7 separate regions of the Homo sapiens genome follow, and all the other regions are linked to region 5. Evidence: promoter capture Hi-C in 16 types of primary human blood cells and fetal thymus (Javierre and others, 2016). All regions are on one chromosome and are shown on one strand. Each heading gives the region's core, a stretch centred on a gene start or on the middle of the fragment in contact. The rest is flanking DNA. Distances are from core to core; before and after follow the strand shown.

Evidence for each region. The method cuts DNA at HindIII sites, captures the fragments that hold promoters and counts their contacts. A CHiCAGO score of 5 or more calls a contact.
Region 1: a fragment that was not itself captured here is called in contact with the fragment with the promoter of GUF1 in region 5 in 1 of 17 cell types (monocytes); the score reaches 9.0 in monocytes.
Region 2: a fragment that was not itself captured here is called in contact with the fragment with the promoter of GUF1 in region 5 in 1 of 17 cell types (naive CD8 T cells); the score reaches 5.4 in naive CD8 T cells.
Region 3: a fragment that was not itself captured here is called in contact with the fragment with the promoter of GUF1 in region 5 in 8 of 17 cell types (total B cells, non-activated CD4 T cells, fetal thymus and 5 more); the score reaches 11.5 in total B cells.
Region 4: a fragment that was not itself captured here is called in contact with the fragment with the promoter of GUF1 in region 5 in 3 of 17 cell types (monocytes, total CD8 T cells and total B cells); the score reaches 8.8 in monocytes.
Region 6: a contact is called between a fragment that was not itself captured here and the fragment with the promoter of GUF1 in region 5, in 1 of 17 cell types (total CD4 T cells). The highest score is 6.3, in total CD4 T cells.
Region 7: a fragment that was not itself captured here is called in contact with the fragment with the promoter of GUF1 in region 5 in 1 of 17 cell types (naive CD8 T cells); the score reaches 7.6 in naive CD8 T cells.

The regions. Positions count from the first base shown.
Region 1 is chr4:48,356,915-48,360,711 of GRCh38, forward strand. The region is part of intron 1 of SLAIN2 (SLAIN motif family member 2); the gene reads left to right. Among named protein-coding and RNA genes, the nearest start is that of SLAIN2, 17 kb to the left of the region's middle. The HindIII fragment of the contact is 1,169 bases long and covers 1,708-2,876 here.
Region 2 is chr4:48,120,302-48,124,123 of GRCh38, forward strand. All of the region lies in intron 1 of TXK (TXK tyrosine kinase), which reads right to left. Among named protein-coding and RNA genes, the nearest start is that of TXK, 12 kb to the right of the region's middle. The HindIII fragment of the contact is 1,676 bases long and covers 773-2,448 here.
Region 3 is chr4:47,928,037-47,931,906 of GRCh38, forward strand. All of the region lies in intron 1 of LOC101927157 (a long non-coding RNA gene), which reads left to right. Among named protein-coding and RNA genes, the nearest start is that of NFXL1, 15 kb to the left of the region's middle. The HindIII fragment of the contact is 7,796 bases long and covers 1-3,870 here.
Region 4 is chr4:48,339,917-48,343,892 of GRCh38, forward strand. SLAIN2 (SLAIN motif family member 2) reads left to right here and starts at 1,613. Exons shown (of 8, transcript NM_020846.2): 1 at 1,613-2,212. The coding sequence starts at 1,824. RefSeq lists enhancers at 1,034-1,153, 1,560-2,473 and silencers at 1,304-1,643, 1,784-2,093. The HindIII fragment of the contact is 7,807 bases long and covers 1-3,976 here.
Region 5 is chr4:44,677,147-44,680,641 of GRCh38, forward strand. GUF1 (GTP binding elongation factor GUF1) reads left to right here and starts at 1,274. Exons shown (of 17, transcript NM_021927.3): 1 at 1,274-1,641; 2 at 3,295-3,406. The coding sequence starts at 1,477. RefSeq lists an enhancer at 493-1,381 and a silencer at 1,453-1,612. The HindIII fragment of the contact is 9,672 bases long and covers 1-3,495 here.
Region 6 is chr4:48,137,863-48,141,323 of GRCh38, forward strand. It overlaps TEC (tec protein tyrosine kinase), which reads right to left. Exons shown (of 18, transcript NM_003215.3): 16 at 1,042-1,160; 17 at 803-960. Among named protein-coding and RNA genes, the nearest start is that of TXK, 5.3 kb to the left of the region's middle. The HindIII fragment of the contact is 994 bases long and covers 1,456-2,449 here.
Region 7 is chr4:48,029,703-48,033,571 of GRCh38, forward strand. It overlaps NIPAL1 (NIPA like domain containing 1), which reads left to right. Exons shown (of 6, transcript NM_207330.3): 3 at 418-474; 4 at 3,291-3,381. Among named protein-coding and RNA genes, the nearest start is that of NIPAL1, 15 kb to the left of the region's middle. The HindIII fragment of the contact is 2,375 bases long and covers 1,175-3,549 here.

The DNA of each region.
Region 1 (3,797 bases), core at 1,042-3,541, 3.7 Mb after region 5:
GTTTTTTGGGTTCACTGTGTTGTGTTGTGTTCTGTCACACATACTGTTTATATACACATATATTCTACCCTGCAACTAATGTCACTTCAGTGCTTGAAAATAGCTCTGTTCTAAAACTTTATTAATGAGTTTGCCTTGCTAATAATTATTAGTATTATTGATAATATTTTTAATATTCCTCTAAAAACCAGAAGAACATATTATATATATATTTATATAAGTATAGTATTATATATCTTTTAGTTAGCTGATGGGCCAAATATAATAATAAAATAGCACTATGAACAATCTAGAAGTTCAAAAAGACGCCGTATATTTGAACTGAATATGTTTTTCTTCAACTTAATTGTGATTTTTGGTTGTAGTAGTAGGTGGGATTGATTGAAACCTTATATTTTATAGTTGGTAAGGCTTAAGAGAGCAGGGAACATTGTGGCTGTTAAAATGATTATATTTAAGTCTTTTTTTTTTTCCTCCTGTTTCAAGAGACAGGGTTTCTCTCTGTTGCCCAGGCTGGAGCGCAGTGGCACAGTCATAGCTCACTGCAGCCTTGAACTCCTGGGCTCAAGCAGTCCTCCCACCTCAGCCTCCCAAGTAGCTGGGACTATAGGCACCTGCCACCGTGCTCAGGTGACTTTTATTTTTTTCCCCCAAGATGGAGTTTTGCGCTTGTTGCCCAGGCTGGAGTGCAATGGCATGATTTCGACTCACCGCAGCCTCCACTTCCACTTCCCGGGTTCAGGTGATTCTCCTGCCTCAGCCACCTGAGTAGCTGGGACTACAGGCATGCACCACCACGCCCGGCTAATTTTGCATTTTTGGTAGAGACAAGGTTTCTCCATGTTGGTCAGGCTGGTCTTGTACTCCCAACCTCAGGTGTTCCGCCCGACTTGGCCTTCCAAAGTGCTGGGATTACAGGCATGAGCCACCGCACCCGGCCCCACTGATGTTTTTAAAAAACTTTTGTAGAGACAGTGTCTCACTATGTTGCCCAAGTTGGTCTTGAACTCCTGGCCTCAAGTGACCCTCCCACCTCAGCCTTCCACAGTATTGGAATTACAGGTGTGAGCCACCACGCCTGGCCCTATTAAAGTCTTTAACTTAGGAATCTTTTATATTCTTTTTTAGCAATGCTATTAGGCAGTAAAGTATAATATTTAAGAGTACTGCTTCTGGAGCACTTTTGGTTTTGCCATTTAATAGCTGTGCCACCTTGGACAAGTTACTTACCTCACTTGTCTCAGTGACCTCATCTGTAGAATGGAGATTATAATAATACATATCTTATAATTTTGTAATGAAGATTGAAAGAGTTACTATATTTAAAACACTGAAGCAGTGCCTGACATGTAATGAGCATTTGATACAGTATAAATTATAATAATTACTGTTACATTGACTAACAAAGCTTTTTTTTTTTTTGAGACGGAGTTTCACTCTTGTTGCCCATGCTGGAGTGCAATGGCGCGATCTTGGCTCACCACAACCTCCGCCTCCCAGGTTCAAGCAATTCTCCTGCCTCAGCCTCCCGAGTAGCTGAAATTACAGGCGTGCACCACCATGCCCGGCTAATTTTGTATTTTTAGTAGAGATGGGGTTTCTCCATGTTGAGGCTGGTCTCGAACTCCTGACCTCAGGTGATCCGCCTGCCTCAGTCTCCCAGAGTGCTGGGATTACAGGCGTGAGCCACTGCGCGCGGCCCAACAAAGCTTGTTAAAGCATTATAAGCAATGTATCCTAATGGTTTAGAATTATTAAATTATATTTGCTTGTGAGTAAAACCAAAGATACTTGTATTTTTTTATTTATTTTTATTTTTTTTTGAGATGGAGTTTCACTCTTGTCGTCCAGGCTGGAGTGCAATGGTGTGATCTCAGCTCACTACAACCTCCTCCTCCCGGGTTCAAGCGATTCTTCTGCCTCAGCCTCCTGAGTAGCTGGGATTACAGGCTCCCGCAGCCACGACTGGCTAATTTTTGTATTTTTACTAGAGATGGATTTTCACAATGTTGGCCAGGTTGGTCTTGAACTCCTGACCTCGGGTGATCCGCCTGCCTCAGCCTCCCAAAGTGCTGGGATTACAGGCATGAGCCACCACGCCCAGCCTAAAGATAATAAGATAAACTTTTATTAAAGTTTTTTTAATGATAGAATTATTAAAATGGAAACAAATTACAATCTCAAAGTGGCCACTTTAATTTACTTTGGTATCCTCCCTTTATCTCTTTTCATATTGCTTTTTTATTCAGTGTGAATTCAGATCCAAATATTTGAACATGTATAAGTGTCTGTGTTGGGGATTCTGCATTGAACGTTGTGAAGACAGTGTCTGTTCTTTTGCACTGAATGTACCTTACTCAGTGAATAGGTAGAGGGGGATGATTTAGGGGTAGTAAAAGTCTGATTATTTTCCTCAGCCTGTAAAAAATTTGCATCTAAAGAAATTTATTTCAATAATGCTTTTAATATAACTTTTATTTTTATCTTAAATTTAAATCATTTTTGTCCTTGGCTTCAGTAGCCTACTTTCAGCTGGCTACAATATGAAAAGTGATTACTGCGGTTACCACAGATTCAGCAAAGTAACTCCTGTCTCCCTTCCTCTCCCCATTATTTACTTATTAATATATGTCTATGTGAAGAAATATATTAACAATGTGAAGAAAAGTCTGGAGAGACATACTCCAAATTGTAAATAATTTTGGAGTGTAATTTTGGTAGAGAAAGGGAGGTTATTATCATTTCTTATATTTGTACATTTCCATATTACTGAAAGTTATTACACTTAAAGAAATAGTTATATTCTTAGTTGTCTTTAATCACCATATTATACAGGTATGTGTGACATATGGGCCAAAATATGACTTCTTATTGTAAGCTTTATATAACTTTATTCTTAATTACATTTCTAATAACTCAGTATTTAACAGTATACTTAAATTGTATTTAATAGTGGTTAGGCCGGGCACGGTGGCTTACGCCTGTAATCCCAGCACTTTGAGAGGCTGAGGTGGGTGGATCACGAGGTCAGGAGTTCGAGACCAGCCTGACCAACGTGGTGAAACCCCGTCTCTACTAAAAATACAAAAATTAGCTGGGCATGGTAGTGCGCACCTATAATCCCAGCTACTCAGGAGGCTGAGGCAGGAGAATCGCTTGAACCTGGGAGGCGGAGGTTGCAGTGAGCTGAGATCGCGCCATTGCATTCCAGCCTGGGTGGCAGAGCGAGACTCTGTCTCAAAAAAAAAAAAAAATAGTGGTTAGTTCCCTTGTAATGATTGTTCTAAGGGAAAAAGTGGCATTTTGAAAGGCCAGTTTATTCCTATCACATTTTGACAGCTTTATCAAGATGTTATTTATATACCATAAAATGCACACGTTTAAAGTGTACTGTGGGCTGGGCAGGGTGGCTCATGCTTGTAATCCCAGCACTTTGGGAGGCTGAAGTGGGTGGATTACTTGAGGTCAGGAGTTTGAGACCAGCCTGCCAACTTGGGAAAACCTGGTCTCTACCAAAAATACAAACATTAGCCAGCATGGTGGTGTGCACGCTTGTAATTCCAGCTACTCAGGAGCCTGAGGCATGAGAATCACTTGAACCTGGGAGACAGAGGTTGCTGTGAGCTGAGATTGTACCACTACACTCTAGCTTGGGTGATGAAGTGAGACTCTGTCTCCAAAAAAAATTAAAAAAAACATAAATAGATAAGAAATAAAGTGTACTGTGGTTTTCAGTGTTCAGTAGTTTTTAACGTATTCACAGAATAGTACAACCATCACCATAATTTAGTTTTATA
Region 2 (3,822 bases), core at 361-2,860, 3.4 Mb after region 5:
CTTCAGCTATTAAAATACATATATACGTATATATACACATATATACGTATATACGTATGTATATATAAAATACATATATACGTATATATATGCAGTTACTTTAGCTGTTAAAAACAAAACAAACTACGCGTGATCTTATTTCCCTCATTGATTTGCTCTCTATTTATTGTAAAATCCAGAAATAAGTCTCTTTTTTTTTTTTTGGTTGAGACCAAGTCTCGCTCTGTCGCCGAGACTGGAGTGCATTGGTGCCATCTTGGCTCACTGCAATCTCCGGCTCCCAGGTTCAAGCAATTCTCCTGCCTCAGCCTCCAGAGTACCTGGGATTACAGACACCTGTCACCATGCCCGGCTAATTTTTGTATTTTTAGTAGAGATGGGGTTTCACCATTTTGGCTAGGCTGGTCTCAAACTCCTGATCTCAAGTGATCTGCCCACCTAGGCCTCCCAAAGTCCTGGGATTAAAGGCATGAGCCAGTCCTCCGGCCCTAGAAATAAGGCTCTTTACTTGCTGTCTCCAACTGCTCTCCTTCCATTACAGTCAGGCTGTCATCTCTACCACTTCTAGAAAAAAAAAACAAAACTGCTCTTGTTAAGGTCACCAGTGACCCATGCACCACTAAATCCAACGGTCAACTCTAAGTCCTCATCTTACTGAACCTCTCTCTTGGCAGCATTGGTACCATATCCCTTGGCTTTGCTCCTTGTCAGTCTCCTTTGCTGCTTTGTTCTCTACCTCCCTGACCTCTGAATAATGCTAGATTTCCCGCAAAGCTTTTGATTTCTTCTTTTCTTTGTCTTATTCACTCTTTTGATTATCCCATTCCCTCCTGCAGCTTAAAAACTATCTATCAGCTGATGACATCAAAATACACACATCTAGCCCAGTTCTAATTAACTCCAGACTCACCTACCCAAATGCATTCTCAAATTCTCCACTTGGATGTCTAGTAGATACTTCAAGTAAACAGGAGATGAAATCTGAACTCTTTTTCTTCCTCCCTCCCCAAACAGGCTCTATCACCCTTCTCCATCTTGTCAAAAGCAATTCCGTCTTTCCAGTTGCTCAGGTAAATAATCTTAGTCATCCTTGACTCCTCTCTCTCTCTCACACACAGGCCAATTTATCAAGAAAGTTTGCTGACTGTGTCTTTAAAAAATACAGACTTCCCCAGTGTCCATGGGAGATTGGTTCCAGATCCTCCGACAGATATCAAAATCCATAGATGCTTAAGATCCTTATATAAAATGACATAATATTTGCATGTAACCTACACACTTCCTCACATATACTTTAAATCATCTCTGGATTACTTATAATACCTAATACAATGTAAATGCTATGTAAATCATTGTTACACTATATTGTTTAGGGAATAATACCAAGAAAAAAATGTCTGTACATGTTCAATACAGACACAACCATCCTTTTTTTTTCAAATATTTTTGTTCCACAGTTGGTTGAACCCAGCAATGTGGAACCTGTGGATACAGAAGGCTGTTTATTCAAGAGTTTCCATTTGGGATGATGAAAAAGTTTTGGAGATAGAGAATGGTTATGGTTTATAACAATGTGAATGTACTTAATGTTGCTGAACTGTACACTCAAATATGGTTAAAATGGTAAATTTTTGATATATATATTTCAACACAATTTAAAACACAAACACACACACACATACTTATTGCTTTCCCCATCTCATCCATCACCACCATGGATAAGCCACCATCACCTCACCTGGCTCACACCAAAAGCCTCCTAACTTCTTCCTGCTTCTCCTCCTCCCACTATGCTTTATTCTCAGCACAGCAGCCAGAGTAATTAATTTGTCTTAAGTCTGATCATGTTACTCCTTGTCTGAGAACCCCACAATAGCTCCCCATTTCACTCAGGGTTATAGCTACATGTTCCACAAGAGCCTATAAAATGCTCCATGATCTGGCCTCCTGTTCCCTCTCATCTCCTCTGCAATAAGCTCCTGCTCACCTCACTCAGCCACACCGCAATGCTGCTGCTGGAGCCATAGGGCCTGCTCTCACCAGAGATTCTTGGCTTTTGTTTTTTCCAGAGCACTCCTCCCTCCTTTCTTAACTCCCTCCAATCCCTCCAAGTCTTTGCTCAAATCTCATCTTCTAAGTGAATAGCCCCCTGATTTGACATTACGGCCATCTGCACTCCCTAACTTTTGAGGTTCCTCACTCTGCTCTACTTTTTCTTTCTTTTTTGGTGTATTTCTCACCTTCTAACATGCTGTGCAATTTATTTACCTTTTTTTCTTTGCTGTTTGTCTACCTCACTAGTATGTAAACAAGCACCTTTGTCTATTTTGTTCACAATTATTATATCCCAAGAAGCTACAACACTTTTTGACACAATGAATACTCAATAAATATTTGTTCAGTGAATGAATGAATGAATGAATATGTTTGAAAGAGCACAAAATTATAAGCTTGCTCAGAGGATGTACCTGTCTTGATTCATTCCTAGTGGAAATTTGCAAATGGTATTTGGAACAGAACAAGCAGGTTCAATCCGAAGTGGTGAACAGTGTGACCAGAGAGGAATAACTCAGTCATAAAAGTCCTTGAAATAAAGGAAGATAAGACCTTGGGAGTCTATGTAGTAGGGAGGCTTCATAGATACTAGAGAACAACTTGGCCACAGGCCAAGCAGAGCAATCAGTTCTCAGCCTGGAAGCCATTGGAAAATGGTCCAGGAAGGTGAGCTCTGACCATCTATATAGCCTCCTGTTTTAATATAAACAAATTATTTAATATCATCAAAGCCAAAAAGTGTATATAATGGCCACTTTATCCTTGAGTAATCACTAGCCTGTTATGTTATTTTCTACTTTTTTCTGTATGCTTGAAATATTTCAAAACTTATATAAAGAAAAGGAAAAACCCAGAAAATCAAATAGGTCTGTGATTTGATAGTTAGGTACCCATTCTATGATTGATAGCTTTCTACATGTACATAACTTTTAGTGATAGATGCAAAAGGATTTTTATTTCCCCAATTTGGCCTCTGTCTTACCTTTTCCCCAACAGAATTATCATCTTCCTCACTATCCTTAGTAAGAAAACCATTCTGTTGCTTCCCCTTTCCAATCTCCCCATGTCTGTGAATGAGTCCACCACAGAAAACTTAGATTCTTCCTGAGCCCCACCCTTTGTATTTGATCTGCCATCAATCTATCAGTCTGTTCACAGGGCTTGGCTTTTTCCTTCTTCTACACCCTCCCAATAAGCAAGGCTAAGCCCTCATCAACTCGTACCTGTAATTTTGCATTAATTCGCTTAGTCCTCACAATGACTCTGTGAAGTAGATGCCGTTTTACAGATGAGGAATCTGAATCACAGAGAGGTTACTCCTTACCAACAAAGGGCTAGTAAGCGGGGAGCCAGGATTTGAACCTGAATCTAGAGTCTCTGCTCTGAGCTGTCTCCTTCGATTCACCCCATATACCCATTTCCCTAAAAGCCTGCTTCAGCCAACTGCTCTTCATCCTCAGCATTATATCTTCCCCCACTTTCAAGGTCTTCCATAAGTGACCCCACCCTGACTACTTTAGCTTTCACCAATTCCTGCTGCACCAGCTTCTTCTGTTTGCTCTGTTCTCACAGACACGTCGTGCATTTCTGCCTCCAGCCTGGAAAGGAAGACTTCCATTGCAATACACTCCCATGTACTCTTCCTTTCAGTTCCCAAAGCACCTATGCCCTGTCCCAAATGTCCTGTCCCAAAGCACAGTCCTGCCCTGTGGTTCCTAGTTAGGTACCACCTGAGATCGTCATTTAAGTTTCTCTGTGTAGGCTTCA
Region 3 (3,870 bases), core at 535-3,034, 3.3 Mb after region 5:
GGATCAGAATGGAGAAAATTCTGTTGAATCCCACAGCCAAGGTGATAAATAGGGTTAGCAAAGACCTTGAAAACAGAAGTAGAAAAGTTTGGTCTCAATGTTGATGGTAGATAACCATTATGAGGTTTAAGAAAAGGGAGGTAACATCATAAAAGCAATATTTTTCAGGAAAACTAATATAGAGATAGGATGCTTTGAGATGGGGAGGGCCTTGTGGTAGAATGGCCAACTAGAATTAAAATTGTAGTAGGTCTGACCCCCGGTTTACAAATTCAGATGTGCAAATAGTAATGCTTCAGTAATTCTAGTCTTTCAATCAACTTAATTTGAGCTCTTGAGTTTTATCTTTCCAGGATGGGTTGGAAAATTTACCTGTTTATTAATTAAATCAAGAAACGTTTATTGATCCCCTATTATATCCCAGGCACTTTCCAGGCACTGGAAATGAGCAATACATAAAATAAAGGACCTGTACTCATGGAACTTTCGTTTTAGTAGAGAAGACAGATAATAAACATATAATGTCAAATTATGATCTGTGCAGGCAGATAAGGTGAAGACGGTTTGAATTTAAATCAGGTAGTTCCAGAAACCACTGTAATAGGGTGACATTTGAACAGAGACCTGAATAAAGGGACAGCATAAGCCACTGGACACTGGGGGAAGAATTTCCCCAGATGAGGAAATGGAAAGTATAAGGACCAAGAAAAAGTAATATATTTGGTGTATTTCAGGAACAGCAGGCAGGCTGATCTCACTGAAAGAGAATGAGCAGGCAGAAGAGTTGTAGGCAATTAAACTGGAGAGGTAATCAAAAGTCCTTTAATAGGTAGGACTATGGTGGGAATTTTTTATTTAATTTTTAGCAAGCTGAGGCAAGGGAGTTACATGATCTAATAATGTTTTTAAATGATCACAGTGGTTACTACAGGGAAATGGACCATTGCTGGAAGGGAAGCAAGAGTGAAATTAAAGAGACCTGTTAAGAGGCTACTGTACTTGTTTAGGTGAAAGGTGGTGGTTTGGACTAGGAGTAGAAAAGGTGAGTTATGGTCAGATTCAGGTTATATTTTGAAGATTGAGTTGACAACATTTACTGACAGATTAGATATTAGGTATGAGACTAAGAGGCAAGAAAAGATGACCCAAAGTTTTTCACCTGAAGAAGTGGTAGGTGCCATTTACTAAGATGGAGAATATTAGGGAAGGAACGGATTTGAGGACAATATCATGAGTTCTGTTTAGGGCACATCAAGTTCTCACCAAAGGATATATCAAGTATGTAGTTGAATATGCAAGTCTGGAGTTCAGAGGAGAGGGTGGAGATACAAATTTGGCAGTCTTCAACACATAGACATTATAAAGTGTCATAAGATATATGAGCTCACTTATGGAGTGAATATCATGGCTACACAATACTTTGATATTTAAAGACCTGACGATTAGGAGAAAGCAAGGGAGATGGAAGTTCAGGCAGAGAACTGACCAAAAGCCAAGTGAAGAAAGTGTTTCAAGAAAGAGGGAGTGATCATTTCTGTCAAGTGTTACCAAGTGGTCTAATAAGTCTTGGACTGAGAACTGACCATTAGATTTAGCCATATAGGGGTCACTGGTGACCTTGATGAGAGGTTTCAGTGGAGTGGTAGTAGCAAGTCTTAATTCTGTCAGATTCAAGAAAGAACAATAAGAAAAAAATTCTACAAGAACAAATGCTACAAAATAGTTTTACAAGAAAGGAGAACAAAGAAAAAGGGTGTTAACAGGAAACAGAAATGGGGTCAAGCATCAGGTATTAATATTTGAGGCATTGTGCACTATGGGGACTATCCCATAGAGAAGGAAAAAGTGATAACACGTGGGAGGTGGAGTGGAAGATAGTAGAAAAGAGGATCTAGAAACTTGTGCACAAGTGAAAGTTGTAAACTTTCCATAGGAACTTGTAGTGTTTGTCCATCGTGACATACTTATCTCAGACATTCTTCAGCCCGGCCCCCATCCTGGATACTGTAGTGGAAAGTCACTAAGATCTAATGTGATCGCCACTGCACTGGAGAATGCTTCTAGTTATTGTCATCAGAGTGCAGAGCCCACATGTCCATATGGTATGGATCCTTCAGGTGCAGTGGCTCTTTGTTCAGGGCTGTGTTTTGAGCATGAGACTCTTTTGGAAACTGGAAACTTCAGGTCTGGGGTCCATATTTCTCTTAGCCTTTGTGTTTCTGGACTAGAGTCCCATGTCCCCTCCCCATCACTATTTATTCACATATGGCAACTATTCTCTAGACCTTCTGATAAAATATATTCAGGGTTCACGAAGCAGAAATTCGTTCAACTATCTATGCTCAGAAGCCTCGTCATTTTCTACAAATGCAAGAAAATATTTCTTAAAAGTTATTTCTAATGAAACCAAACCTCTTTGGCATATTTTTGCAATTTCTTACTGGCTACAAAACTCCTTATGTAGGTCTCAATTGCATTTGATTTCTTAGAGCCAATCATTTTTAAAGTATAATTTGAATTATTCTACCCTAAGTGTACTCCAGTGGAATTTATTCACACTGAATTTATCCAGTGGAGTTTATCCATACTGAGTAAAGCCCATCCACCGGTATTTGTCCTCTTTAGGCATTGTGAAATTACATGTGAATGGAACAATGGAAATACTGGTAATGTAGATCAATTAATTATCAGGGTTTTTTTGTTTTGTTTTGTTTTGTTTTTTTGTAAAGTGAGGAGCTGGAAGTGATTTATTAAATTTTAAAATGAGTGGGGAAAATTATATTCCTATCCTAGAGACCCCCTGATAACAGTGGGCAAATGTTCATCCCTTGAGTGCCACTGGGTGGCTCATCTGTCATTCTTTCTGAGGAGAGTAAGCAATGATACCACTGGGGGAGATCATGGAACACCATGGACTTTGGTGCCACCAAAGTACCTGCACTCCTTGGCATCATGAGTCTTTGTGACAAATCCAGGAAACAGGCTCCCTGCTCTCTGAAGAAATAACTCAAGCAGCTCTTTGGACCAAGTCCAAGGTTGTCTGAAGCTCAGCCCAGATAAAACAAAAATGAACCTGATTGGAAAGAGGAGAAGTTGGAATCTTTGTGAGAAACCCAGGTAAACAGGCTCCCTGCTCTCTGAAGAAATAACCCAAGTAGCTCATTGGACCAAGTCCAAGACTGGCTGAAGCTCAGCCCAGATAAAACAAAAATGAATCTAATTGGAAAGAGGAGAAATTGGCAATCTGACAAGAAATCCAATATCAACTCTTTTAAGAACGAACATTGTCAGGCTGGTGAGTAATTTTGTGGTAAATTGCTATTTTCAGAATCCCAAAGGGATACATTGATGAAAAATGCATTCGTTCATCTCTAACCAGTCAGGAAATCAAGAGACAGACTTAAAATGTAATTCTATGAAGCATTGTCCCAAATTCACTCAACATGCACTCTGGCCAGCTTAAAGTAGAAACATATGGATAACAGGCATGTTATCACCAAGTAGAACCCCATAAGGCATTCAACTTGGTCTGTGTAGAAAGCAATCAAGTCCAATGTCATAGTGAAGTAAGCACTGAACCCAGGGTCAAAAGTCCAGGCTTTGCCACTGAACTAGCTGTGTGAATTTATACTGAACTCTTCTCTTTTTATTTTTTTGGAATAGTTCAAACATATCAAAAATTATAGAGAGCAATATACAGATATCTGTAGCTAGCTTTATCAAATCTTAACATTTGGATCCATTTGCTTAACATTTGGATCCATTTGTTTTAAAAGATATGAAAGAGCACAGACAGCTGAGGTGCTAGGTATTTCTCACCCTCCCTCCCATCTCATTGTCCTTCATCCCCCACAGAAGTAAGCACTACTC
Region 4 (3,976 bases), core at 596-3,095, 3.7 Mb after region 5:
TTGACAATTATGTTAGCAAACAATCACATCCTTTGACTAGGTCTGTATAGCTAGAAAAATACTCGACTTATAGTTAGCCAGCAAACTTTTAACACAAATACGTTTTTTGCTACGAATAAATAGCTACGTGGTTTTAAGTAGAACTTATAGTCTACTTAACTTTCAACAAACCAAGTATTGAGTGTCCACTGTGTCAGTGTACTAGACATGGGAAGCAAAAATGAAGTGTCCTTAAATCAAGTAAACAGACAAAAACAAACGAAAAATAATTCTTAGAGAAAAAAGCAATTTAAAAAAAAGTGCAAACACCTATTGAGAACTATTGATCACGTAGTGCTAGAATATGCAGAATAATTAGATCTTTGTGGAATTGTTGGGAAGAGGTTTCCTGAATGAGAGAGTATGGGATTTAAGAAAAGAATCAGATATGGCAGGCGGAGAATATGGCACTAGAAAAGCTAAAGGGTAGAAGCAAGTCAGTCATGGCATGAGTCCACACTCAGGTGTAACAGGACTGGATCATTGTTATTAAACTAAGGGTGGAGGCGGCAACTGAAGAAAAGCTGCAAACACAAGCCAAAGCCGTTCACAATTGACCTCTGAAGACCAACGACTGTGATAATGTGATCAAAACAAAGCATTTAAGTTTTGTTTAGGTTTCCTGCCGCATTCTAAAGGCAGACTTCACATTCTTACAATTTTCTTCATTCTTCAGTATCTGTCAGCGTGTTTAACTACTTTTAACATACAACTTTTAAAAAAGTCAAGACACACTACGAGGAACTTTTTCCGAAGGAAGTGATCCAAAGAACAGAGTGTGAGTCAATAAACGGAGAAAGGGAGTAGAGAAGCGGTTTACTATCCCCCGCTTCCGCCCCAGTGTGCTGTAAACTTTAAGTCGGGAAAACTATGTTTTAACCGATGAGATAATGCCTTTAAAAGTGCTTAGCACACTGTCTGGCCAGTAGGAAGCACTCAAGAAATTATGATTATTTTGACCTTAGACCTCTCTTAACTGTCTGAAACTGGGGTTTCTTATTTTCAGGGGAAGAAACAGGACACAGGCAGTCTAGAGGCTCCTGCCAGCCGAGACAATCTCCAATTAAAAGTCGGCATCGATTAAATATTTGCTGAACAAAGTAAACTGTCTCTCCACCGCCGGGCTGAGCGCCCACTCGAGATCCGGCCCGGAACAAGGGCGAGACTGGCCCGCGGGTCCCACACTCCCTGTAAGGGGTGGAGAACACGCCCACACGCCCAGACCAACAGGCGAGGCTGTTCGAGGACCTTGTTAGCCACCTCAGCCCCGCCCGCCGCGAGCCTTCTGCTGGCCTCCCGTTCTGCAGGGACCCTCCCTAGCCAGCCCGGCCGCGTCCCACATCCGCCGACACGCCCCTTCCGGCCTAATCCCCGCCCCTCAAGCACCGGCCCCGCCCCATAGGCCCCGTCCGTGGCCCCGCCCCGCCGCGAGCTGGCGCCGGGTCCTCTCAGCGCCCGCCGGCGGCCGCGTCCACCCCCGACGCTCTGAGGTCACCGACTGGGCCGGCCCGCGGGGGGCGGAGGGACGGAGGGAAGATGGCGGCAGGGGCCGGATATTGGCGCCGCCTCCCCCAATCCCGGAGCCGGCGCAGATGAGGCAGTTCGGCTGGGGCCAGCGGCGCTTTGGAACCCGAGGTGGGGGGACCCTGGCGGTGGGGCCTGGTCCTGCTATATGCCGGCGCCTCGGCTAGAGTGAGCGGCGGCGACGCCTCTTTCCTCCGTCTCTTTCCCTGTCGCTGCGAGAGCGAGCGGGCGGCGGAGGCGGCGGCGGCGGCGGGGCCGGGATGGAGGACGTTAACTCCAACGTGAACGCGGACCAGGAGGTGCGGAAGCTGCAGGAGCTGGTGAAGAAGCTGGAGAAGCAGAACGAACAGCTGAGGAGCCGCTCGGGGGCCGTGCAGGGCGCCGGCTCCCTTGGGCCCGGCAGCCCGGTTCGGGCCGGCGCGTCCATTCCCTCCTCCGGCGCGGCGTCTCCTCGGGGCTTCCCCTTGGGCCTCAGCGCCAAGTCGGGCGGCGGGCCCGGGTCGGGCCCGAGGCGGACGAGTAGCGAAGAGCTGCGGGACGCCACCTCCTTGCTAGCGGCGGGCGAGGGCGGCTTGCTGGACGAGGTGGAGCCGCTGCGGCCCGACGAGCTGGAGCGCCTGTCAGGCTGGGAGGAGGAGGAGGAGAGCTGGTGAGCGCGAGGCGCCGGGCAGGAGCTGGGCGGGGACGGGCCCGGGGGCGGAGAGCGTCCTCTGAGGGTCCCTCTGGTCGGGCGCCTCGCTTTGTGTAGCCGGGTCCGCTCTCCTGTGGCGACTTGTGGTTTTCTTGCTTTGGCAGAGGGAACGTCAGCTGGAGTTGGGGGTTCGAGGCGTGCGCAAGTAACAGGGTTGTAGCTCGTTGTCCTTTGGATTGTGGACCTTCTGAGTGCTGGACCCTATTGGGGTCTGTGGGTTGGGGCAGCTTGAGAAGGGCTGTTCGCCTGGGGAGGAGTCGGAGGTGGGAAACTGCTTTGTAGGCAGGGATCCTGCTTTGTGTAAGATACTGGCTTTCGGATGGTGGCCCTGGGCATTCTGGATGTAGGAGAGGGGTCTGCTTGATGAGGTATCACCAGGTGTGGGGGTCAGGGGCAGACCAGAGTCGTCTACGTCTATGCAGCGGTTGGTGTTTGGGACCCATTTCTGGCGGGGATGGGGAGACCGTATGAATCAGCACTCCCCTTTGGGTAGTGGGGTAAACCTTGCTTTGTGTGAAGAGAGGGCAGAGGATGGTGCTGCTTTTTTTTTTTTTTTTTTTTTTTTGTTACTCTGTGTGAAGAGTCAAGGGTGGAACGAGCCCTGGCTCTTATTTTCTAAAACAAGAATTGAGTCTGGCGTTTTGCAGAGCTCTGAATTGACAGTTATCACATCCATCTTTCATTTCCACGTCCTTCTAGGGGCAGAGAAAAAGAGTCCTATTTAAAAATTTAAACCAAAGCTATATTGTCATAAGCCACTTCTTGATGAAATTGTGGCCCCCCCACCTTAATATCACTTTCATAAATAGGACATGGGAGGCTTTTCCTCTCGTTTTATTATAAAGATGTGTGTGGGCAATTATTTGTCTTAATTCATTTTTCTTAAAGTTTTAACTTTTAGCTAAAATGTCTCTGCTCTATTGAAATTAAAACTTCTAACAGTGAAATCGAAATCATTCATAGACTCTGGTATTGCAGGGCTGGAACTTTGCAGTGTTCTGAGGTAGTTAAGAGCTTTCCTGGGTTCGCCCCTGGTTTTGCCACTTACTAGCAGTATGACCTTGAGCAAGTTACTCTGAGGCTCACTTTCTTCTTGTATTTGATGGAGAAAATAATAGCACTTACCTCTATAGAGTTATGAAAATTTAGTAAGATAATTATGTATGCATTTAGCGCTGGATCTGGCACATAGTAAACTGTCTAAAACAAGCTGCTATTTGTTACTCTTAAGCCTAGTTACTTAAATCAAGAAACAGTTCTTATATGATGTTGTAGGAGATTCTGGTGATTCTTAAGTGTTGATCCCTGTTCATAAGGCAGTTATAGTCTTGTTGAGAACTAAGTTTTGTGCAGTTAAATAAACTAGAAAGTGTACAGTGAATTACCCAAAGAGTGATAGAACAAAGAGTACTGACAGTGCTCAGTAACTGGGAAAAAAATAGTAGTCCAAAGTAGTTGGGCCAGACTTTGAGGAGGAGGTGGCTTGGAGTCTGAAAGTGAGGAAAGAGCGGGAAGGGCATTTTATGCTCTTGACAGCTACAAGAGCAGAGTCAGAGGTATTTGTAACTCTCAGGAAGATTTGAGTAACAGAATTACTCTTGAGTATATGATGACATACCTTTATTACCAAGTGATATCAAATATTAGAGCTGACTGTGGTAGTGACAGTTTTTGATATAAATGTGAAATTGCATTCTCCCAAAGGAATCTTGGGTATGTATG
Region 5 (3,495 bases), core at 24-2,523:
AATATAAATTATTGTGTTTACTTCAAGATAGTTGTTAAATTCATTCTCTTACAAGTGTGACAGAATTAGTCGTCTATCAAGTACTGTTTTAATTCATAAAAGTTCCAAGAAAGGGCCAGGCGCGGTGGCTCACGCCTGTAATCGCAACACTTTGGGAGGCCGAGGTGGGCAGATCACGAGGTCAGGAGTTCGAGATCAGCGTGACCAACATGGTGAAACCCCGTCTCTACTAAAAATACAAAAATTAGCCATGATTGCTGGCGCGCGCCTGTAATCCCAGCTACTCAGGAGACTGAGGCAGGAGAATCGCTTGAGCCCAGGAGGCGGAGGTTGCAGTGAGCCGAGATAGCGCTACTGTACTCCAGCCTGGGCGACAGAGCGAGACACCATCTCAGGGGGGAAAAAAAAATCCAAGAAAGAACTGAGTCTGGTACAGAATTCTTGATCCTAAGAAATCCTCCAAATGAAGAAACTTTCAAAGGCTCTGGAAACAATACGAATGATTCTGTCTTCAGTCACAATGATGAACTGAACACAGCTGTCATCTCCCTCCTTCGCACCAAATTCTGGATATTCCAGAAAAGCGCAAGAGAAATAGTGGGAGACAAACACTGGATGCAATCCTCCTATCACCTGTTTTATCCCCCATTCTTACTTCGTCAGAGCTCATTCCATGAAGTGGTAACTTGATGACGATGGAAACATTGGGGGTCCAGCATGGAACTTTTTCCCACCTTTACTTCTTGCCAAAACCTTCCTGGATTCAGTATTGCAATCAATGTTATGGCCCGTTTCCTTTCAGATGCACTTCAAGATTAGCTCTGTCACTGACAACATGGGGAATACATTTCGACCTCCAGATTTTAAAAGTGCCATTATTATTTTGCCATTAGGTAGAAGGCTAAGTCTCAACGTTGTGCTAATAATAGCATCTTTAAGTCCCTGGACTAAGACCTCGGCTCCTGGTTCGGGAATCAGACTGCCTGGGCGGCACTCCAGGCTCCACAGCTCCCCACCTGTGAGCTCCTGGGCAAGTCACTCGGTCCGGATTTCCAGAGGTAGTTTGGGGGAACTGACAGTACACACACCACAGGGCAGTAGTAAGAAAGAGACAATGCAAAGGAATTGGCACAGCACTCAGCAGACAATATAAGCTAATATGTACTCTGTCTACACCCTGCGTTTTAGGGAGTCAATCGAAAGCCTCCACTCACGTGACCACTCCACTACCCGGCGCCAAGACGCGCTGATGTCACGACAGCGTGCGGCGTGCAGACGTCGGCAAGCTGCGCCGCCGCTTCGGGTTGCTTCCGGATCTGGTACTTGGGCAGAGCTCCCCGGGGTTCATTGTCTTCGCTTCACAGGATCTGTTTGAGTCCTGTCCACCGGATCCTACGGGGGGTACCTTCGAAAAAAAACGGGCTATGCTGCTGTTGCGTGTGGGTACCCTCTCCTGACGCCTCCGCCGCCCGGGTCATGTGGACCCTCGTGGGTCGGGGCTGGGGGTGCGCACGCGCTCTCGCGCCACGAGCCACTGGGGCCGCGCTTCTGGTGGCCCCGGGGCCCCGGTCCGCGCCGACCCTTGGGGCTGCTCCAGAGTCCTGGGCTACCGACAGGCTCTACAGCTCCGCAGAATTCAAGGTGACTGCCCCCTGGAATCTGATTTAGCCAAGTTTTCAAACGTTGGAGTGCCCCATGCGATCTTGGACATGTATAGGGCTTTCTGGGACTAGCTCTGAACCCTGCTTGCAACTTGGTACAGGGAGGCAGAGCGGAGAGTGTGAGCACTGCTCAGGTTCCCGACCCTCCACTCCTCACTAGTGTGACCTTGGGCAAGTCACTAACTTTGTAGGTTTTCTCATTTTCAATGTCAAATGTTGATTTGTTTACGCGAGCCACTGGTCGAAGTGCTTTGCGTTTATTCATCTATTTAATTCTAAAAAGCCTACTAAGCAAGTTGCTAGTAAATATTAATATAACGTCCATTTTCCTGCAAATTAAGTAGCTATGTGGCCTGGGCAAGTTACTACATTGTCACTCTCCTACTTCATTTGTTGAATGCAGAACTGATCAAACATCCAGTGGCTAATTTGTGAGATTTGTGTGATGTGAGAAGTGGACTTTTTTAGACTAATACCTAGAATGCAGGAAGTTCTCGGTCTGTCTTTGTAGTTTTATTTCATTCTACCTCAGCCAGAGCAAACCTGTGTAATTTTGACTCTGGTGGGAGAGGGTGGGAGGTTCAACAACTCTGATAATTGTGAATGGATACATTTTAGTCAGAAAAGTGAAGTGACTGAAGGCAAGCTATAAGTAGGCAGAAAGACAAAACCTTAAATTAATCAACTTTGGCCCTAATATGCCTGTGTTTTTAAAAATGGATTTATATTGCAATTCGAAGTATAAAGATGGTGCAATTCTCTATACCTTTTGAACTGAAGGGAAAGAAAATCTACAGGGCAAACATCAGAATTAGTTTTTTTTCGGCAGACTTTCAGCTATAATTGTGCTTTTATTATCTGTCTTTATGGGGCTATTAAAAAACAAAGCTCACGTGAATTTTATATTTCATTGTAATTTCATGGTTTTGCTGATTGTGAAATATGCAGTTGATTGGAAAAAAATAGAGTACAAAAAACTGGTATATTTTGCTTGATAACAATTTCTAGCAATTTGTGATGTGTTTCAGTAAAACGTTAAAGAAGATGTGTACACGAAAAACCAGGAGTTCCATTTTAAAATATTTTTAAGTTTTAAGTGATAAGTCTTTTGTTGGATGTCATCTTTTTTTCTTTCTCACCAGAGAAGCTGCAAAGTAGCAAAATTGTATTTAAAATAAAATTTTGAGGCTCCATTAGAGACACAGATTTTTAAATAAATCTGATTCCTGATTAAATGTGTGATAGGAGCAGAAAATTTATCTTCTTTCAGCTTTTCTGTAGCTCCATTGCCTCAAAAGTTTTACTAGACAAGGTATTCTCAGGCCTTTAGAAGTTCTAGGTGTCTCATGTTCTCCATTCACGATAATAAATTCAGTTCCTGATTGGCCCTAAAAATTGTGTAGAAATGTTAAGGGATTATGATTTAGCTGTATAGTTACCTTTGGCTATTAAACTGATGTTCCTTGTAATATGAACTTAGCCATACATGTCTTTTTCTTAGAATAATAATATAAACAATATAAATGCTAGAAATGATATTGTTCAACGATTAAAAGAATATTCTTTGAATTGGTATACTTGTTTGATAGTATGCCAAATTTATACTCCTAAATGTGGTATTTCCCCTTTCTAGGAAAAACTTGACATGTCTAGGTTTCCTGTTGAAAATATTAGAAATTTCAGTATTGTTGCACACGTGGATCATGGCAAAAGTACTTTAGCTGACAGGCTCCTAGAACTTACAGGTATTTCATTTATGTTACATACTTAACTGATGGCTGCGAGTTATTGGGAATTACTTTTACTCTTAAATTTTAATTTTATAAGTAATATT
Region 6 (3,461 bases), core at 703-3,202, 3.5 Mb after region 5:
GGGCCACTGTCTCCACTGTTGTGCACACTGTGTTTATAACCACCTCCTTACCTTTGCTCAAGCTGTTCTCTCTCCCTTTAGCACCACTTCCTGCCCAGAATGTCTCTGCCCATCCCAATCAATGCTCTTGGGAGGCAGTACAGCAAGTGGTTGAGACTCTGGGCTTTGGAATCAGACAGGCCTATACTGTTCTGTAGCTAAGTGACCCCAGGCAAGCAGCAACCTCATGACCCTTAATCTTCTCATCTACAGAGTGGCTACAGTCAAAGTATCTCCACCTCAAAGTGTTGTTTTGAGAACTAAATCCAAAACACTAAGTATAGTGCCTGGTACATAATACATGTGAGCTAATGTTACTGTCTTTCAGAAGTCATTTGGTATCTAATCTCTTTTAGGAGGTAACATTTCAATACTTTCAAAGACCTCGGAAAGTTGAGGTTTAGAGAAAGAAACCAACTCTGGTAAAAAAATAATACTTCAACTCTACAAGTGAACCAATGAAAAAAGAGCTACTTATCCAGGCTTATTCCCCAAGTCCCTATCTCAGGCAACCATGGAAGGAGTCCCACTTGGAAGTGAGGAAGCAGCCTGAATGTATCGAGGTAGTTATTAGCATTTTCCACATCTTTACATTCTTCTTCCCGTTATTCAGAACTTGAGTTGAGAGGGTTGGCTTCCTACCTAGAGCTTGAAATCACTATAAAGATGCACCACCTCACTAGGCTATAAAGACTGCATGTTATCCATCTACCAAGCCCAATCCCTAAGAGATTCAAAAAGAAAGCACACAAAAAATCTATACCTCCTGCCAACATCTCAGCATCACCTCATACACATAGTTGGACGCCAACTTCGGCTGGTAGAGTCGGTGGCCTCGAGTAACCATGGTTACCACTTCATAATTGGTGTATTTTTCAAAAGGCATTCTGCCTTCCGTGAATACTTCCCACATTAAAACACCTGGAAAAGGATAAGGATTACCAAATGGATGTATCCACTTTCTCCTCAGGGCGGACGGACATGAGGAAACATGGATCTTACCAAATGACCAGACATCTGATTTGCTGCTGAAGCGGCTGTAATTAAACACTTCAGGTGGACACCACTTCACAGGAAACTTAGCACCAGAAGAACTTGTGTACTGATCATCCAGAACATACCTAGAGTAAGACACACCATGGGTTTACACCTCTGAAGAACAATCTGTTTTTTCTACTTGCTCTTTCATTTTTTTCCCCTTGCAATCAAAAACACAGTTGACTGAAGTCCAACAAGCATCCGGTTGAAGCTAAATGTTCACCTCAGTGGCCACACCTGGTGATTTCCAACTTCCTCTCAGCTTAATTTAAGTGCATGAGATGGATCCATCACCACGTTACCATCTGCACTTTCATTTTTCTGTTTTTCTTTCTTTTTATAAGGCAGTAGAGACAAGGTATCATAAAATAGTTTGCAAGCTTTTCTTTGTAAGCAATTTTGTTCTTTAAATAAAATTTTACCCAAAGGCCCCATATGTAAAAAATCTAAAGCAGAGCTGCTCCAGAGGAAGTGGTATAAAGCATCTAGAAACACACAGGCTTTCAGGCCTCCAATTCCACAGAGCACAATTTAAAACTACAGCATATGAAAATAGCAAATGCAAAAAAACAAAAACAAAAACACAACACAAAATGCCACATGTAAATGGTGGAGTATGTATTTATACATAACATCCCCACATACATACATACACTCAAAACAATACTATATAATTTTTCTATGTGAACATACAATGTCCTTCTGGAAGAACATACAAAAACTGGTAACAGTAGCTAACTTTAGGGGAGAATCCTTGATTAGGGTTGGTAGATGAAAAGACTTCAGCCCTTTCTGTAAGGTGGGCAGCACATATTTACAAAAGGAATGTATCTCTGTATTGTGTGTGAATATACCATTAATTTCTAAAAGGTTCCATGAGAAAATTTTCGAAGAATTGCACAAACATCCTTTGCTATGTAGACAAAGATGGTGACTCGGCACAAAGCCAGCTGCTGGCTGGCAGACAATGCCACTGTGGGCTGGATCAAACTGTCAGCCAGTGGAGTCTGAATTTAGGGTATAAAGAGGTTTTTGAGTGGTTGATACAAAAGTGCAGATTTTCTGAAAGCCTAACATATGAAGATTGAACAGATGAAAGCGGCAGACAGCCTGTCAAATATATAGTATCTGTATATAAAAGCAAATAAAGAGCATTGGGTAATTAATATCCTAAGAGTTGGAAGTTCTGGTCCCATTTCTGACAGTAACAGTTTTCTAATCTCCCTGGGCCTGAGTTTCCTTAGGAGTTAAACTTGGCCCTACATGGCCTGGTCTTTGCCTGCATTTATGAGCATTCCTGGCGCTGCCCGTTGGCCAGCTACCCTGGCGCTTTTTCCGTTCCTTGAGCAGGCCAGACGTGTCCCAGACTTCAAGCTTTTTCACTTTTTCTTCCTACCTGAAATAGTTTATCCTTTTATTTTCACCTACACTGGCTACTTCCTACCTTTTCGTCTCCAGTCAAATCTGCCTATCACAAAGAGGTCATCCTGAACATCAGATCAAGTAGCCACCCTCACTCTTGCCCTGCATCATCATTCAGCACCACCCCAAATTATCTCTATTACAGGGATCAGTCAACTTTTATGTAAAGGGCCAGATAACACATATTTCAGATCTGGCAGGCCATACAGTCCCCGTGACAACTACTTGACTCTGCATCTGTAGCAGGAAAGCAGTCACAGGTAACACCTAAATGAATGAGCGAGGCTGTGTCTCAATCACGCTATTTTTATGGACAGCAACATTGGAATTTCAGATTTTTTTTTACATGTCATAATATTCTTTTCATTTTTTTCATCCATTTAAAAATGTGAAACCCAAATGAGGTTTGGGTCAGACTGACAGCCACAGTTTACCAGTATCGACCATGCTCGATCATGTAACTTTATCAGGTCTTCTGATTCACCCTCTTCCTCAATGTAAGCTGCATGCGGGCAAGGACTTGTAGGTCTTATTCTCTATATGGTTCAGCTTATCATTATGCCTGGCACAGAGCAGGCACCTGATTTTTTATGGGTGGATGTATGGATGAATGAATGGATAGACGGAGGGAGAAGAGAGAAAAAATAAACTAAATACCTTTAAAAGGTATTTTATAATACTATTAAATTATAAAAATTAAGAGAAGAAAAACACTGCAGACATGGACATACTAAGAACCTCACCACCAAATATGTTTTTGTGAAAACAAAAGATTCTAGAAATCTAATCCACACCAGGAAATACAGTGTATTTAACAGGCTATACTACCACCTAGTGGAGAGAATTACTACCATCACAATATATACTTAATTTAATCTGAGAACCAGTTAACAAGATTTCCTTTCTGCTTCATCAGTGCAAATTATTCCCACACTTATTAATTCCACCAAAAAAATGCAAAC
Region 7 (3,869 bases), core at 1,112-3,611, 3.4 Mb after region 5:
ATTGACATAACTTTTCTGGAGGGCAATTTGGTAATACATGTAAAGTTCTTTAAAAAATGCATTTCCTCCTACCCAACAATTACACTTCTAGGAATTTATCGTGAAGAAATAATCATTCCAGTGTTGCAAAGGTAAATGCGTAGGGAGGTTCGTGAGAGCATTATATTTATAACAGAAACACGGAAAAAAATCTAAATGCAATTAATCCATTAGGGGATTTGTTAAATCATTGTAAATTGGGGGAAAAAAAGCTTTAGAAGAGCTTTGGAAATGACCAAGTAAATAAGCTAAGAGACTTTAGATTTACTGACTTAACTTTTCTAACCATAATCCAGTACGCTTCCTAGAAGTTAATTCTTCAAACCTTCCTCCAGTGTAGAACCCATTTTTTGTTAATTTTTACTTTTTGTATTTTAGGACAAGGTGGACATTCTTACCTGAAGGAATGGCTCTGGTGGGTAGGATTGCTGTCAAGTAAGTTTTTAATACTGAGAATACTGTTTATTTGTAAGATAGTAAATAGATTACATGAAATTTTTCATAATTGGTTAATCTTCCTGTCAAGAATGGAACAAGGATGGAATTTAAGTCTAAACATTTTTGTGTTAGTCAATATATTGTCCTATATATACTATTATATATAAATAAATTAATTTTTACTCTTATTTCCCACCCCCTGTGCTCTCAGTACTGTCCTGGAATGCAAGGGAAAAAGTTGACCTTTGAAATATTACATTTTAACCACAGACTTCTTGTATTTTCTTCACCATAACAATAGAGAAAAGTACTTTTCTTTCATATTTTCCCACCTCCTAATTAGAACAACTATTGTAGCTGCATATTTTCTCAAGAAAGAGTACAGTTTCCTTGCCAGGACAACACGGATAAGTGAAAGGCTTCTGTGGCTGCTTGGTACTGAACAAATGGAGAAGAAATGAAGGGTGTCAGCACTCTCCTTCCTCCCAGACCTGCTGTGAGGATTAAACGAGACTTTACAGGATCTGAAAGCACTTTCTAAATGCTAATGTGATGTCCAAATAGAAGGCAGTGTTCATCTCCCTCAGCCACTTTTGCTGACTTCAGTCTCCCCACTAAGTGAAATTTCTTAAATCCCAAAGCGGAGGCTCCCCTCAAAAAGGGCATCATAAATTCCCTCTGTAGCCAGGAGTCTTAAAGCTTCCCTGAATTTCCCCAAACCAAGCAACACATTTCAGTATTTGTAAGATCCTGTTATGAGAAGGAACTGGGTACCTTTTCTTTAATAAATGGTGGAATCTAAAAGGATGATTAATAAAGAGAATTTAAATATGTATAGCCCCTTCAGTTCTTGTTTATTGTGGATTTTTTTGGGGTTTTTTTGTTTTTTGTTTTGTTTTTTTTGAGATGGAGTCCTGCTCTGTGGCCCAGGCTGGAGTGCACTGGCAGGATCTCGGCCCACTGCAGCCTCTGCATCCCAGTTTCAAGCGATTCTCCTGCCTCAGCCTCCCGAGTACCTGGGATTACAGGCACACACCACCACACCCAGCTAATTTTTGTATTTTTAGTAGAGACAAGTTCTCACCATGTTGGCCAGGCTGGTCTCGAACTCCTGACCTCAGGTCACCCACCTCGGCCTTCAGAAGTGCTGTGATTACAGGCGTGAGCCACCACGCCCGGCCACCCCTTCAGTTTTTAGGGTGCTTTTACATCCATTTTCTTTATTTGAATAAAAATTGACAAGGGCTGTCTGGGAAGATTCCAGATAGGTATTTGGATCTTTCTCTTTTTCTGTCTTACTTGCATCTCCCCACCCTCTACCCATACTTTATAATGAAAATATGAGGAGAGTATTATGTGACTACATTTGCAATTTTGTTTTCACCGTGTAAAAAAGTTTATGTCAGTATTGAAGAGAGAAAAGCATACATTAGAGATTAAGTAAGTGATATATATACAGTACTTTAATCATGAAGTCGTTGTTTTCCTGGAAAGCTATCTATAAAGATAAAAATATAAATAATATAAAGTATCCAAGGAAACCTTAATATTCCAAGAAAACTGCCACGGTTTTTTTTAGACAGAGTCTCGCTCTTGTCGTCCAGGCTGGAGTGCAGTGGCGTGATCTCGGTTCACTGCAACCTCCGCCTCCCAGATTCAAACGATTCTCCTGCCTCAGCCTCCAGAGTAGCTGGGATTAAAAACGCTTGCCACCACACCCGGTTAGTTTTTGTATTTTTAGTAGAGATAGGGTTTCACCATGTTGGCCAGGCTGATCTCGAACGCCTGACCTCAAGTGATCTTCTCCCCTCTGCCTCCCAAAGTGCTGGGATTACAGTCATGAGTCACCATGCCCGGCCTTGCCGTGATTCTTTCGATGATAGCAATGTCTTAATTATTCTGTTCTGTAAATTTAGATTTGTTTAATGATGTTTTCCTAATGGTGAATACTCCTATAGATTTGGGGGGATGTAGCGTAGCAGCCAGACAAAGGGAAAAAGAAAAAAATCATGCTGGTGTTCCTTTCTCTCTCTACAATAAGCATTTGCCTGGTGTAGTTGCCAGCATGAAATACTACATTCTGTGGGCAAGTTTCCCACTGTGTTCTGTGAGAATAACTTGGCCCCAGTACCAGAGCCCAGCTCTTGAAGGGATTTCTCTCACTCTAGAAGTTATTTATAGCACACTATATCATGCAAGTCTAGAGTTCCTCAGATAAGAAAAAGATTACATTCAGGAGCATATCATGACTTTAAAACAGCTGCCTGGATCTCGTTAAGCTACTGAGATACTGTTACTTGCTTATAGATCACTTACAATAGAGGGATATCTAACTTCATGGGCCTATGGCAGGTATTTCTGGCTATTCCCTACCTACACACCAGATTTAACCATTCTAATTTTCCAAGCTGGTTTTGGTTTCTGTGGGTAACCTACAAAGCTGTAGGTATTCTTGAGCAAGTGAAATAATTCTCTGCTTACTACAAAGCTACCTCTACTAGATTTCATTAGAGTCACCAAATATGTCTTCAATATTGAAGTAGCTAAAAATTTCTATTGAAAGCCATTTAAAATGAGTACTCATCTGTCACCATTTTTTGCATCTTTTGAGTTTATCACCTGGTATTACAGTTTGTCTGCATCTCTTAATATTAATTATCTCCTACCTGCTATAAAACATGTTACATCATTCTTTTTAGCTAGATCTTCCCATGTATTTGGGTTAAAAGTCCACTGCTTTGCATGAGTCATTTGTTTTTCTCTTCTGACAAGTAAGCCCATTTTTTATATCAATATCTCTGCTTGCTTTCTAGTGGGAGCAGGAGAGGCTGCAAATTTTGCTGCTTATGCTTTTGCACCTGCCACCTTGGTCACCCCTCTGGGTGCTTTGAGTGTTCTCATAAGGTATGTGAGCAACAGGGAACTTGGCTTCTGTAGGTATTTTAAGACCAAGATAAACTTAAACCATAATAAACATATGGCTATGGATATCTAAAAGCAAACACACAAATCTAGACCAACCTGGGCTCTAAAAGTCTAGATGAACCCAAATTATTTCTGAGGCTCCTGGGAAGCTTTGGTCAAGTCACTCAGGCTCAGTTTACTCATTCATAAAGTGAGAACAATACTTTTTCTTGCCTGAAATCACAAAAATAACTTGAGAAGACTATAAAATAACAGTAGAAATAGGAAATAGACTGTCACATTATTATTTTAAAAACCTAAGACACAGTGAGTTTGATTTCCTACTAACATAAATGTGTTTTACATTTGTAACACTGCAATGAAGCATAGAAGATTTTTTAAATCTCTCATCAGAACAAATTGCCAGAGTCCTGTCAATTATTTTCCTCATCATAGTGGTTAATGACCATAGTTATCAGAGGACTTTT